Linked DNA regions of Homo sapiens: region 1 is linked to region 2. Evidence: promoter capture Hi-C in 16 types of primary human blood cells and fetal thymus (Javierre and others, 2016). All regions are on one chromosome and are shown on one strand. The core of a region is centred on a gene start or on the middle of the fragment in contact, and the rest is flanking DNA. Distances in the headings are between cores, read along the strand shown. Region 1 overlaps MRPS12 (mitochondrial ribosomal protein S12). Region 2 holds the start of FAM98C (family with sequence similarity 98 member C).

Region 1 (6,281 bases), core at 2,736-5,235, 530 kb before region 2:
CTGAAAATGTTTTTACAGATGGGTCTAGTAATGGTAAAGCTTCTTATTCTGGCTCAAAAAGTAAAGTTTTTCAGATGCCCTATACTTCAGCTCAAAAAGTGGAGCCTGTAGCTGTAATTGAGGTAGTGACTGCTTTTCATATGCCTATTAATGTGATTTCTGACTCTTCATACGTGATTCATTCCACACAATTAACTGAAAATGCTCAGTTACAATTTCCTGCAGATGAACAACTGATGATTTTATTTACCCAACTGCAAACAGCAGTTAGGAGTAGAATGCACCCTTTTTACATCACTCACATTAGGGCTCATACACCTCTTCCAGGCGTCACCTTTTGCAGTGTTTTGCAGTGATGGGCATTCCAGCTTCTATTAAAACAGATAAAGCCCCAGGCTACACTAGCCGAGCTCTAGCTACATTTTTCTCTATACGGAATATTAAACACATTACTGGTATCCCATATAATTCTCAAGGACAAGCCATAGTGGAAAGAATGAATCTCTCCCTGAAACAGCAGTTGCAAAAGCAAAAAAAAGGGGGGAAAACAAGGACTACGGGACACCCCATATGCAACTGAATCTAGCATTGTTAACTTTAAATTTTTTGAGCCTGCCTAAAGGCCAGATCCTATCAGTAGCTGAACAGCATCTACAGAAACCAGCTGCAAAGACAGAAGCAGAACAACTAGTTTGGTGGAGAGATCCAATAACAAAAAGTTAGGAAATAGGTAAAATAATAACTTGGGGTAGAGGTTATGCTTGTGTTTCTCCAGGACTGACTCAACAGCCGATTTGGATACCATCAAGACACCTGAAACCTTATCATGAGCCAGATGCTGAGGAAGAGATTCCGGGAGGAAACTGAGGACCCCCCCCACCCCCGGTTGCAGCCATGTCGAGACTGACGCTGAGGAAGACCCCAACTGTCACGAGCAACACCTGTCAAACACAGCCACCCACCTGGAGACAGATCAAGAAGCTGTCACAGATGGTGGAAGAAAACCTGAGGAAAGTGGGACAACCAGTCGCAATGAGTAATTTAATGGTAGCTATGATAGCGATGATCACCACTGCCATGAGTATTCCTTCAATAAGGGCTGACACAGAGGACAATTATACTTATTGGGCATATTTATCAATCTTGGCTGGCAATAATGCCTGGATGTAATCACTCTATGACACAGTTATACAAGCTTTCTGATCTCATAATAAATCTGCTCCTATAATTGAGGCATACTGCCCTCAAAAACATATTTGTAAACAGGATTGGACCCAGTTAGCAAAAATGAACGTACTTGTTTAGGAAGATTGCTTTGCAGAACAGGCAGAGGTGCTGCACAACAATTCCTATGGAATCATTATTAATTGGTCACCTATGGGGATGTTTAGCTTGAACTGCACCTCTCAGTCTGCATGCCATGGCCACACTGTGATCAGCTCATCTGAACAAAATGGTCAGATGATAGAAATGGTAAGAAATACAGCAAGAGTTCCTATTATCTGGAACCATGGCAGTATAGTGGCACCTCAGCCTCAAATGATATGGCCTGCTCTAGGAGCTAAACATAAGCATTTGTGGAAACTGTTAATAGCTCTTAATAAAATCAAAATTTGGGAAAGAATAAAAAAGCATCTAGAAGGCCACTCTACAAACTTGTATTTGGATATTGCAAAATTGAAAGAACAAATATTTAAAGTATCCCAGGCACACGTGAACTTAATGCCAGGAACTGGAGTGCTTGAAGGAGCTGCAGACAGATTAGCAGCTAGTAACCCATTCAAATGGATAAAAACACTTGGAGGCTCTGTGATTTCAATGATGATTGTGCTTTTACTCTGTGTTGTTTGTCTTTGTATAGTGTGCAGATGCGGATCCTGACTCCTGTGAGAAGTAGCTCACCGTGACAAAGCTGCCTTTGCTTTTATCACTTTGCAAAACAAAAAAGGGGACATGTTGGGAACAGGCCCCTGAATCTGGCCATAAACTGGCCCCAAAACTGGCCATAAACAAAATCTCTGCAGCACTGTGACATGTTCATGATGGCCATGACCCCCACCCTGAAGGTCGTGGGTTTACTGGAATGAGGGCAAGGAACACCTGGCTCACCCAGGATGGAAAACGGCTTAAAGGGGTTCCTGTACCACAAACAATAGCATGAGCGATCTGTGCCTTAAGGACATGTTCCTGCTGCAGATAACTAGCCAGAGCCCATCCGTTTATTTTGGCACATCCCTTTATTTCCCATAAGAAATGCTTTTAGTTAATCTATAATCTATAGAAATAATGCTTATCACTGGCTTGCTGTCAATAAATATGTGTGTAAATCTCTGTTCGAGGCTCTCAGCTCTGAAGGCTGTGAGACCCCTGATTTCCCACTCCACACCCTGTATTTCTGGGTGTGTGTCTTTAATTCCTCTAGCGCCACTGGGTTAGGGTCTCCACGACCCAGCTGGTCTCGGCACTCTGGGATCCTGCCACGGGGCTGTGTAACCAGCCATCTCTGTGCAACATGCCCAGCACTGCCTGTCAGCATCTCCTGTTCAGGTCAGGCTAGCACCTCTCTCATCAGAATTCCAGAATTCCATCAGAGGCCAAGTCCCCCACCCCCACCTCCTGCCCTTGCTTTGGGGGCAACTTCCTGCAAGGTAACACTTCCTTTTCTCCACACTCCTGTATACAGACTCCTGGAGCAGAGTGTGCCATGAGGAAAAGCTCTCCCATCCCCCCATCTCCCTCCACTTCTCTATTTCTCAGCTAGGCATGGCCAACAAACTAGCTCAATAAAACTGGTGCCAAATATGAGGGGATGGGCAATTTTTATCTGTAATCAGTGCACTTATCTGCCACCAGCTCTGATCCTAAAAGACCTTGTGGCCTCATGTTTACAATCAGGAGACCCTCAGGAGGCTGTGTGTTGAGCGTCAAGAGGAACTCGGAGACAGCTATGATGCTCCAAACAGCTCTCAAGCATGCACCCTTATCAGCGCCATTTGGTCCAGGCTCAGAGTGTAAACAACCTGCCCAAGGTCACCCAGCCAGTAAGTAGGGGAGGCAGGGCTTGGAGCAGTGCTGGGCTCCAGAGCCCAATGATATAAACACAGTTCCAACATTGTTTTTTCTTTTTTCTTTTTTTGAGACAGAGTCTCACTCTGTCACCCAGGCTGCAGTGCAGTGGTGCTGATCTCAGCTCACTGCAACCTCCACCTCCCAGGTTCAAGCAAGTCTCCTGCCTCAGCCTCCTGAGTAGCTGAGATTATAGGCACATGCCACCATGCCCGGGTAATTTTTGTATTTTTAGTAGAGACAGGGTTTCACCATGTTGGCCAGGCTGGTCTCAAACTCCTGACCTCAAGTGGTCGGCCCACCTCGGCCTCCCAAAGTGTTGAGATTACAGGCATGAGCCACTGCACCTGGCCCCACTTCTTAAATCTTACATGGCCAAAAACATGATCAGGTGCAGTCAGCATTATCATCAGTGCCATTTTCCAAGGGAGGAAACCGAGGCCCATAGGGGGAACCAACATAGCCAGGTCTCATAGCAATTATGACGGGGAGCAGAATTTGAGCTCAGGTGAACCCAGTAATAATTTTATATTATTATATAATATAATAGTGGCTCACACCTATAATCCAGCATTTTAGGAGGCCAAGGTGGAAGGATCTCTTGAGGCCAAGAGTTCGAGACCAGCCTGGACAACAAAGCCAGATTCCCACTCTAAAAAAATGGAAAAGTTAGCCAGGTGTGGTGGCACACACCTGTGGTCCTGACTACTCAGGAGGCTGAGGCGGGAGGATCTATTGAGCTCAGGAGGTCAAGGCTGAAGTAAGCTTTGATCATAGAACCGCACTCCAGCCTGGACAACACAGTGAGACTCTGTCTCTCTCTCTACACAAACACACACAAACACACACACACACACACACACACACACACACGTATAAAATAAAAGAACAGCTCCCGGGTGTGGAGCAGCACACCCCATTGAATCCTTTCCACACCCCTTCCACATCAACATTACAATTACTGCCATTTTCCAGCTGTCCATGCTTGAGGGCAGAGTTTATGTGCCCAGAACCCATGGCCTGCAGGAAGAAGACCTGGGCCTCTGTGCCACCTACCTGACTCCTAAGCTTAAAATACAGTAGCCCTCTGCCAGGCGTGGTGGCTCACGCCTGTAATCCCAGCACTTTGGGAGGCCAAGGTGGGCAGATCACCCGAGCTCAGGAGTTTGAGACCAGCCTGGCCAACATGGTGAAACGCTGTCTCTACTAAAAATACAAAAATTAGCCAGGCCTGGTGGTGTGTGCCTACAATCCCAGCTACTCGGGAGGCTGAGGCAGGAGAATCATATGAACCCGGGGGGCAGAGGTTGCAGTGAGCTGAGATCAGGCCACTGCACTCCAGCCTGGGCAACAGAGTGAGACTTTGTCTAAAAAAAAAAAAAAGAGCCCTCCGTGCGTGTTATGCACATAGAGCATCGAATTTAATCTTCACCAAACCAAACAAAGGAGATACCACCAATGGAGCTATTTTCTGGAGGAAACTGAAGCTCAGAGATGTCCACTGCCACAGCCACACAGAGGGCAAATACTCCACAAGGGGATTTACATCACAAGCGCCAGGGTCTGTTTATTAAAACCCCTTCCCAGCAGAGGGCAGTACAGTGTCTTGTCCCAGCAGAAAAGGTCCTTCAGGCCACCCCTCTAAACACAGGAGCCAAGGGTGTTGACAGAGGGGCACCCTTTGCACCCCCAGGACTCCTATGGCTTAATAGTGGTCCTGATGGAAGAGGCGGAGCCAGGACTTGAATCCATGAGTGGCTGCCTCTAGAGGCGCAAAGGCCAGCATCGGAGGACCCTGTGGCAGCCAGGAGCGGAAGGTTCATGTTCTGCAGGGGCGCCCAGCCCACTGTGCCCCCAGCCGTCACTTCTTCTGCACGTGGCCACAGTCGTACTTGCCACGCACAACGGTGAGCTTGACGCCTGGCAGGTCCTGGGTGCGGCCGCCCTCCACAAGGACAATCTGGTGCTCCTGCAGGGTGTGGCCCTCCCCAGGGATGAAGCAGACGGCCTCGCGGCCAGTGCTGAGCCGCACTCGACAGCACTTGCGATTGGCTGAGTTGGGCTTCTTCGGCTTGCGGGTAAACGTGCACAGGACCACACCCTTCAGCTGCGGCCGGCCTTCCGTGGGGCCCAGCTTCCGAGGCGGCCGCTTGGGGGGCCCCAGGCGGTGCATCTGGTTCAGGGTAGCCATGGAGCAGGTAGCCCAGAGCCGGGGAACCAGAGCTGGGCCTGGAGAGGGCCGAAAGGGGTTATTATCCCAGAGAACAGATCTTAGAGTAGTAGCAACTCAATTTTGGTGTTTTAGGCATTGTTTAAAGCACTTTACAAAGATGCATTTGTTCACATCTAATGTTATCTACAGACAAAAGTAACTCTTTATTCTTCAAGGAAGCATTACCTTTTTTTTTTTTTTCTTTTTTTTTTTTGAGACAAAGTCTCACTCTGTCGCCCAGGCTGGAGTGCAGTACCTCAATCTTGGCCCACTGCAACCTCTGCCTCCTGGGTTCAAGCAATTCTCCTGTCTCAGCCTCCTGAGCAGCTGGGACTACAGGCACCCACCACCACGCTCGGCTAATCTTCGTATTTTTAAGTAGAGACGGGGTTTCACCATGTTGGTCAGGCTGGTCTCGAACTCCTGACCTCGGCCTCTCAAAGTGCTGGGATTACAGGCGTGAGCCACCACGGCTGGCCAGGAAGCATTATTTTTAATGCTGTTTAAAATAATAGTAGGCTCAGTGGCTCATGCATGTAATCCTAGCACTTTTGGAGGCTGTGGAGGGTCACTTGAGCTCAGGAGTTAAGGCCAGACTGGGCGACACAGGGAGACCTCCCTCTCTACAAAGAATCAAAAAGTTAGCTGGTTGTGGTTCTGCAGGCCTGTGGTCCCAGCTACTTGGGAGGCTGAGGCGGGAGGATCACTTGAGCCCAGGAGGTCGAGACTGCAGTGAGCTGTGATCACACCGCTGCACTTCAGCCTGGGCGACAGAGGGAGATCTTAAATAAATAAATAATAAAACTGACCCAAACGCCGCTTGACACGCAGTAGCCCTCCATGCAGCTGCTTCCCACCTCTTGCTCTAGCAGCCCTAGCTCTGCCAAAACCCCACCGTGTTTTTCCACCCCCGTTTCCCTCGGGGCTCCGACGGAGGCACACAAGTCCAAGAGCGAATAACCCTCCCCCTCTAGCCTCGTCCCTGAAGCCCAAGTCCCCCACT
Region 2 (7,057 bases), core at 89-2,588:
CCAGGAGTTGAAGACCAGACAGGGCAACATAGGGAGACCCCACCTCCACTTAAAAACAAAACAAAACAAAATCCTCCACCTTCTAGTCCCCCCCACCTAAAGCCTTCCAGAGTAAGCCCCACCTTGAGACCCTGTCCCCTCCTACGAATTCCACTCCTGCCCACTTTGAAACCTCAAGCCTTCCTCCTAATCCAACCCACTTGAGCTCCTAGGCCCTCCAATTAAAATTCTAACCCCGGGCCGGGCGTGGTGGGCTCACGCCTGTAATCCCAACACTTTGGGAGGCCGAGGTGGACAGATCACCTGGGGTCAGGAGTTCGAGACCTGCCTGGCTAACATGGTGAAACCCCGTTTCTACTAAAAATAGCCGAGTGTGGTGTCGCGCGCCTGTAATCCCAGCTACTCGGGAGGCTGAGGCAAGAGAATCACTTGAACCTGGGAGGTGGAGGTTGCAGTGAGCCGAGATCACGCCACTGCACTCCAGCTTGGGTAACAAGAGTGAAACTCCATCTCAAAAATAATAATAATAAAATAAATAAAAAATAAAACGAAATTCTACCCCCGCCCATTTTAGAGCGCTCTGCTTGCCCCAACATGCTCACCCCACCCACCTCGTACCCTCTGGGCCGCCCCAAAGTTCTGACCACACCCCTTGGGAACCTCGATTTCCCCTAAAAAGTCAGAGCCCGCCGCTCCGGAGGCCATGGCCTTGCCACTTCTGCATCCCGGGACTCACGCAGCAGGCGCAGTCCGGCACCGGGTTCCCGAAGCGCAGCCGCGCCATCCCCGCCGCAGAGCGCGCGATCCGGGCAGTGCAGCTCCCGCAGCAGGCTGCCGAGCTGCCGCAGAAAGTCCTCCTCCGCGCCAGGGCCTGCGAGGACAGGGGTGTCAGGGCTCGGTGGCCCCGTGGCGGCCCCCCTGCCACCCTCCCGCTCCGTGTTTACCGTCGCCGGCGCTCAGCACCTCCGCGCCCGCCTCTCGCTGCTGCTCGAGGGCGCCCAGCGTCGCCAGCTCCGCCGCCAGCCGCACGCACAGCCCCCTGAAGTCTGGGCATGAGGCGCCCCGCGACGCCGCCCCCGGGACACCTCCATACCTGTGGGGACCGAGGCAGCGGGAGGGGGCGGGGATGTCACTGGGAATCCCTTTTCGTCCGCGTCCAGGGGGCAGACCTGGCCTTCCTGCACCCACCAGCCTCACCGCACACCCTTTTACCCCAGAGCCAGCAGGTCCTGGGCCACCGCGGCCCCCTCCCACGCTTCCGCCTTCACCGCCTCCATGAAAGTGTGGTCTCGGCGCGCCCCCTGGCGGCCGGTGGCAGGCTCCGCCCCAAAAGCGCCGCGCGCACGAGCTCCCCGCAGCGTCCGGCGGCACTGACCAATCGGCATCTTCCCGCGCAGGGGCTTGGGTGCTCCCATTGGCGCAGGAGGACGCCGAACCCGCCCCGGGGCCCGCCCGCCCCGCCCCTCGGCTAACCTGTCGGGGTTGTAGGAACGCCCCCTGGAGCTGTAAATTGCAGTGCGTTCGGGATCTCCGCTGTCAAGACAAGCTGGCGGCGGGTGTCACTGTTGCGGCGACATAAAAACAACTTCGGTGCCATTTTCCTTTTCCTCCCTCAGTTGTCTTCTGCTGGTGTTTTGTTGGTTTGTTTTTGAGGCAGATTTCGCTCTATCGTTCAGGCTGGACTGCAGTGGCGCCATCGCGGCTCACTGCAGTCTCGACCTTCTGGGCTCAAGAGATCCTCCCGCCTCAGCCTCCCAGCTAAATTTTTAAAAATCAGTCAGCCTTGGTGGCTTACACCTAGTAGCTGGGACCACAGGCGCAGACCACCGCGCCTGGCTGATTTGTTTTTAATTTTTTTGTAGAGACAAGGTTTCCTCATGTTGCCCAGCCTGGTTTCCAACTGCTGGGTTCAAGCGATCCGCCTGCCTCGGCCTCCCAAAGTGCTGGAATTACAGGCGTGAGCCACTGCAACCGGCCAATTTTTTTTTTTTTTTAAAGTTTTGTAGAGGCCGGGCACGGTGGCTCACGCATGTAATCCCAGCACTTTGGGAGGCTGAGGTGGGTGGATCACTTGAGGTCAGGAGTTCGAGACCAGCCTGGGCACATGGTGAAACCTCATCTCTAATAAAAATACAAAAATTAGCCGGGCGTGGTGGCACACGCCTGTAGTCACCACTATTTGGGAGGCTGAGGCAGGAGAATTGCTTGAGCCCGGGAGACACAGACTGCAGTGAGCCAAGATCGCGCCACTGCACTCCAGCCTGGGGACAGAGCAAGACTCCGTGTCAAAAAAGAAATAAAGTTTTGTAGAGAGGGGTCTAGCTATGTCGCCCAGGTTTGCCTCTAACTCCAGTGTTCAAGCAATCCTTCCCTCTCAGCCTTCCAAAGCTTGGGATTACAGGCTTGAGCCAGTGTTCCTGGCCCTGTCCTCTGCTCTTAAAGCAGCCCAGACGGAGTGGTGTTCACCCAACTCTGCCTAAAATCCAAAACTTCCTCCCTCCTTTCCACCTCAGGGTTTGAATTACATAAGGGACCCAGGAATCCCAGCACACCCCTCACACACCAGGCCCTCCTCATCGATCACGATGTGCCTGTTAGGCCTTCACTCCTCTCCCTCTTAGGCCTTGGAGTGAGCAGGTGCAATGCACCATAGTGGTTAAGAGATTACACCCTAGGAATCAGGCAAAGGGTTAGGGCTTGATTCTGTTACTCGCCAGCTCCATGTTCCTGCCAAATTGCTTCCCATCTGTATAATGGGGATAATAGTACCTACCTCTTAGAGTTGTTGCTGAGGATTAATTAGAGTTTCATATGTAAAAAGTGCTTAGCAGATATATAGGGAGTACTTAATAAGGAATAACTAATATATATACAGCATTTAATGTGTACTATTGGGCGAAGTATCTTATCTCTTTTACAGAAGAGAAAACTAAGGTTGAGAGAAGATAAGTCACAGAGTGAATTCATGGTGATGCCAAGGCTTGAAGATGAAATTCCAGACTCTATACTCTTAAACCACGGAACCTATTTCCACTGTTACTACTGCTGTTGTTTTGTTGCTGTTGCTAAGTAAACATTGTGTCAGATCTAATCTCTTCCTTACTGTATCCTGGTATCCAGTAGTTCCTAGACAATTCTGCTGGAAGTTGGGGGTGGACCAGGAGCCTGGAGGGAAGAACAGGGGTAGAACTTGTTCCTTAAGGGCAGATACGAGTAACCCCATAACCCTGTTTACCCCAAGGCAGGACACTTGGGGGGCTATTTTTTGACATAAATCAAATGTTAAAAATTGCCCAGAGGTGGGCCACAGTGGCTCACACCTGTAATCCCCGCCTTTCAGGAGGCTGAGGTGGGAGGATCGCTTGAGCCCAGGAGTTTAAGACCAGACCAGGCACCATAGTGAGAACATGTCTCTACAAAAACATTTTTAAAATTAGCCAGGCTTGGTGGTGTGCACCTGTAATCCCAGCTACTCGGGATGCTGAGGTGGGGGGATCACTTGGGCTCATGAGTTTGAGGCTGCAATGAGCAGTGATCATGCCACTGCACTCCAGCCTGGGTGATGAACTCAATTTAAAACAAAAAAAAAAATTGCTCCAGCCAAAAACCTGGACTTACTATCTTGACTCCTCTATCTCAAATCCCATACATAAATCTGTGGGTTCTATTTACAAAGTAGGCCCAACACCTGCCCACTTCTCCACCCTTCAGGGCCCTCACCCTGGGCCTGTCCGCTGCTGTCTTGTCCTGAACCATCACAGCAGCCTCCTCTCTGTGAAGCTGTCCCCCACCCCACTCCTACTCTGCTGACCACATGCAGCAGAAGGAGCCTGTGAACTGAGTCAGGTCACATGCCTCCCATGTTTGAAATTTCCTGTGGCTCCGTCTCACTCAGGGTAAAAACCTAAGTCCATTCAATGCCCTTCAAGGCCTGACAGATCTGCCCCATCGCCTCTCTGCCCTCATCTCCTAGCGCTCTCTTCTCTGCTTCCTCCCCTCTCAACACTCTAGCTCCCTGAAGCTCCTCAGACTTACCGGACACACTCCTGTCTCAGGGCCTTGCACTGGCTGTTCCCTTTACTTAAAATACCCTTCCCTGCAGACATCCCCAGAACTCCCTCACCTCCGTCAGGGCTTTGTTCAAATGCCAGCTCCTGGCTAGGCACAGTGGCTCACACCTGTAATCACTTGGGAGATTTCCACCTGGAATCACTTGGGAGACCAAGGCAGGTGGATCACTTGAGGTCAGGAATTCGAGACCAGCCTGGCCAAAATGGTGAAACCCTGACTCCACTAAAAATACAAAAATTAGCCGGGCGTTGTGGCACCCACCTGCAGTCCCAGCTACTCAGGAGCCTGAGGCAGGAGAATCACTTGAACCCAGGAGGCAGAGGCTGCAGTGAGCAGAGATCATGCCACTGCACTCCAGCTTGGGTGACCGAGTCAGACTCTGTCTCAAAACAACAAATGCCAACTCCTGAGGAGGGTCTAACCTGGCCACTCTAGCTAAAATGGCATGTATCCCCCATTCCCACTTTTTTTTTTCTTTCTGCTTTCTATCATTTCTAACATATTAAGTCATTTACTTATTGTCTCCCCTACTATAAAGCTCATAAGCTCTTTGCAGGAGGGACTTTTGTCTGTTCTGCCCACTGCTTTATCTCCAGTGCTTTCAACAGGGCTTGGCACATAATTAGGTGCTCAATAAATGCATTTGTTGAGTGTCTTATAAAACTCAGCTTGAGGGTCTGATGGGAGAAGGGAGAATTTAAGTAGGAGACTGGTTTAGCAGTTCAGGAAGGTGAGTGGGTGGGGTGCACAGAGGCAAATAAATAACACAGGCTGAGACTTTGTCACAGACATTTCTTGGAGCAGATCTCGTGCCCCCTCCCCCGATGACAAGGCTGGGTCTTTGGCCCCCATCCTCCCCCACCACTTCAGCCTGCACTGACACTAACAATATTGAGGTCACAGACTGGCTTAGAAACAAGATCAGGAAGATATATGTTGGGGTGCCTCCCCCAAATCTGGGGGCCAAGCATCCGATCTGAGGGGCAAGCGGCTGGGAAATTGGGCCTGGGGGCTCCAGGGTCTGAGGTCTGCCTGGCTCCCAGGGCGGCCCTCCATGTACCCCTGATTTGGGGGCAATGAAGGGGAATCATGGATCAGAGGTGGGTCTCAGCAGGGAGCAGGACTGGGGGACCTGGGAGAGGCGCTGCTGGGAAGTGGCGGCCAGGGGACCTTTCCTTAGCCCCCACCGCTTCATCTGCAGATCCCACAGCACCGTACAGCACTCTGGTCCCCCGTCCCACCCCTCCCCAAAACGAGGTAGGTTAAGAATGGAGCTTCCCCCCCGCCCACCATGGAAGGGGGGAGACCGAGGCACAGAGAGGGGCATGGGGACCCAGGCTGCCCCAGCCCCCAATCCCTCCGCCCTCAGCTCTGGTGGGTCTGACAGTGATGAGAGCTGGGCAGAGTGGGGAGGGGAGAGACACCCCCGCTTTTCTCTCACCCATCCCAGGGTCTGGTTGGGAGTGCTGAATCTCACAGGTTCCGGATGTAATAAATAGTTAATAATTTAAAGGAAGAGACAGAGGACCTATCCCTTGAACCCCAACAAGGCCATCCAAGTCTGGGTAATGAAGAAAGGTTAAGTGCACAGTTCCAGATGCTTGGGGCCAGATGCAGGTCCCAAGCCCATACAACATTGAGACTGTCTTGCTCCAAGACCTTGAGGCCCCCATACAGGACACCAGATCTTCGATCCACTGGAAGCCCCATTTCACTTGGGGGAAAAAAGCCTGTGGCACCCCCCTTTGCACAGAAGAGACTCAGTGGGCCATGAAACAGGCTTTCAAACTTCCTGAAGCAACTTCTCACTCTAAAGTGGAAGAGAGCCAGGTGCAGTGGCTCATGCCTGTAATCCCAGCACTTTGGGAGGCTGAGGCAGGTGGATCATGAGGTCAGGAGTTTGAGACCATCCTGGCCAACATGGTGAAACCCTGTCTCTACTCAAAATACAAAAAATTAGCTGGGTGTGGTGGCACATGCCTGTTATCCCAGCTACTCGGGAGGCTGAGGCAGACGAATGGCTTGAACCCGGGAGGGGGAGGTTGTGGTGAGCCGAGATTGTGCCACTGCACTCCAGCCTGGGTGATACAGCGAGACTCTGTCTCAAAATAAATAAATAAATAAATAAATAAATAGGAAGAGAAGGGGTTAATGGAGGGGGAGAACATAAAAGGTGGGACTTGAACCTGGACTAGGAATTAAGGTTGTGCTTGAAGGAAGGTCTGCAAGACTGGGGGCTGTGGGACAGCAGAGCCATAACTAGCCTGAAAGTTTCCATTGCACACACTTCTTCTGAGGGCACAGTGTGGCCAGCAGACTGGTGTGACTTCCAGCTCCTCGAAACCCTGGGCTGTGTGCCTTCACTTAATGAAGACCCTGCATAATCATCTGTGACAATGCTGGGTCCTAGACGTGACAGTGAGGGAGCTCCTACTTGGTCCTTTTTTTTTTTTTTTAGAGACGGTCTCACTACATTGCCCAGGCTGGTCTCAAACTCCTGGCCTTAAGCGATCCTCCTCCCTTGGCCTCCCAAAGTGCTGGGATTACAAGGCATGAGCCACTGTGCCCCACCCTGGGTGGTCCTACAATGAGTTCCAAATGGTAGGGATCCCACCCTAAGATAAAGGGGTAATTCTGAGGATTGCTGGGGGCTTGGGCTGGGATCCTTGGGACCAGAATTCCAGAGGCTGGAACCTTGGGGTTTTAGGGGCCTATGGATGACAGGATTCAAGGGGCAGCAGGTCTCTGAGGTCCGACAAGTGGGGATGGGGGAATCAGGTGTAGAGGCAACTTGGGGTTCATCAGACTAGAGAGGTTTGAATCCAAAGAAATCTGGGGTCTGAGGGTGCTGGGGTCTTGGGGCACCTCGAATCTGAACGCCTCTGGTATGGAGGGATGAAGGTCTTGGATCAGGAACAATCCCAATGTTGTAGGGTCTTGAGCCTTGCATTTGGGGGTCAGTGGCACCTTTGGGGTATTGGATCCA

Evidence for each region. Contacts are between HindIII fragments. The CHiCAGO score rates a contact against its expected background, and 5 or more counts as called.
Region 1: a contact is called between a fragment that was not itself captured here and the fragment with the promoter of FAM98C in region 2, in 11 of 17 cell types (non-activated CD4 T cells, M0 macrophages, total B cells and 8 more). The highest score is 10.1, in non-activated CD4 T cells.

Annotation. Positions count from the first base shown.
Region 1 is chr19:38,931,347-38,937,627 of GRCh38, reverse strand. It overlaps MRPS12 (mitochondrial ribosomal protein S12), which reads right to left. Exons shown (of 3, transcript NM_033362.4): 3 at 4,460-5,295. The coding sequence ends at 4,928. It overlaps LOC124904713 (a long non-coding RNA gene), which reads left to right. Exons shown (of 2, transcript XR_007067253.1): 2 at 776-2,805. Among named protein-coding and RNA genes, the nearest start is that of MRPS12, 3.5 kb to the right of the region's middle. The HindIII fragment of the contact is 303 bases long and covers 3,834-4,136 here.
Region 2 is chr19:38,397,374-38,404,430 of GRCh38, reverse strand. FAM98C (family with sequence similarity 98 member C) reads right to left here and starts at 1,338. Exons shown (of 8, transcript NM_174905.4): 1 at 1,213-1,338; 2 at 945-1,093; 3 at 737-871. The coding sequence starts at 1,277. SPRED3 (sprouty related EVH1 domain containing 3) reads right to left here. Exons shown (of 6, transcript NM_001394336.1): 6 at 4,844-7,057. RefSeq lists silencers at 832-1,031, 1,222-1,551, 4,114-4,272. The HindIII fragment of the contact is 11,725 bases long and covers 1-2,390 here.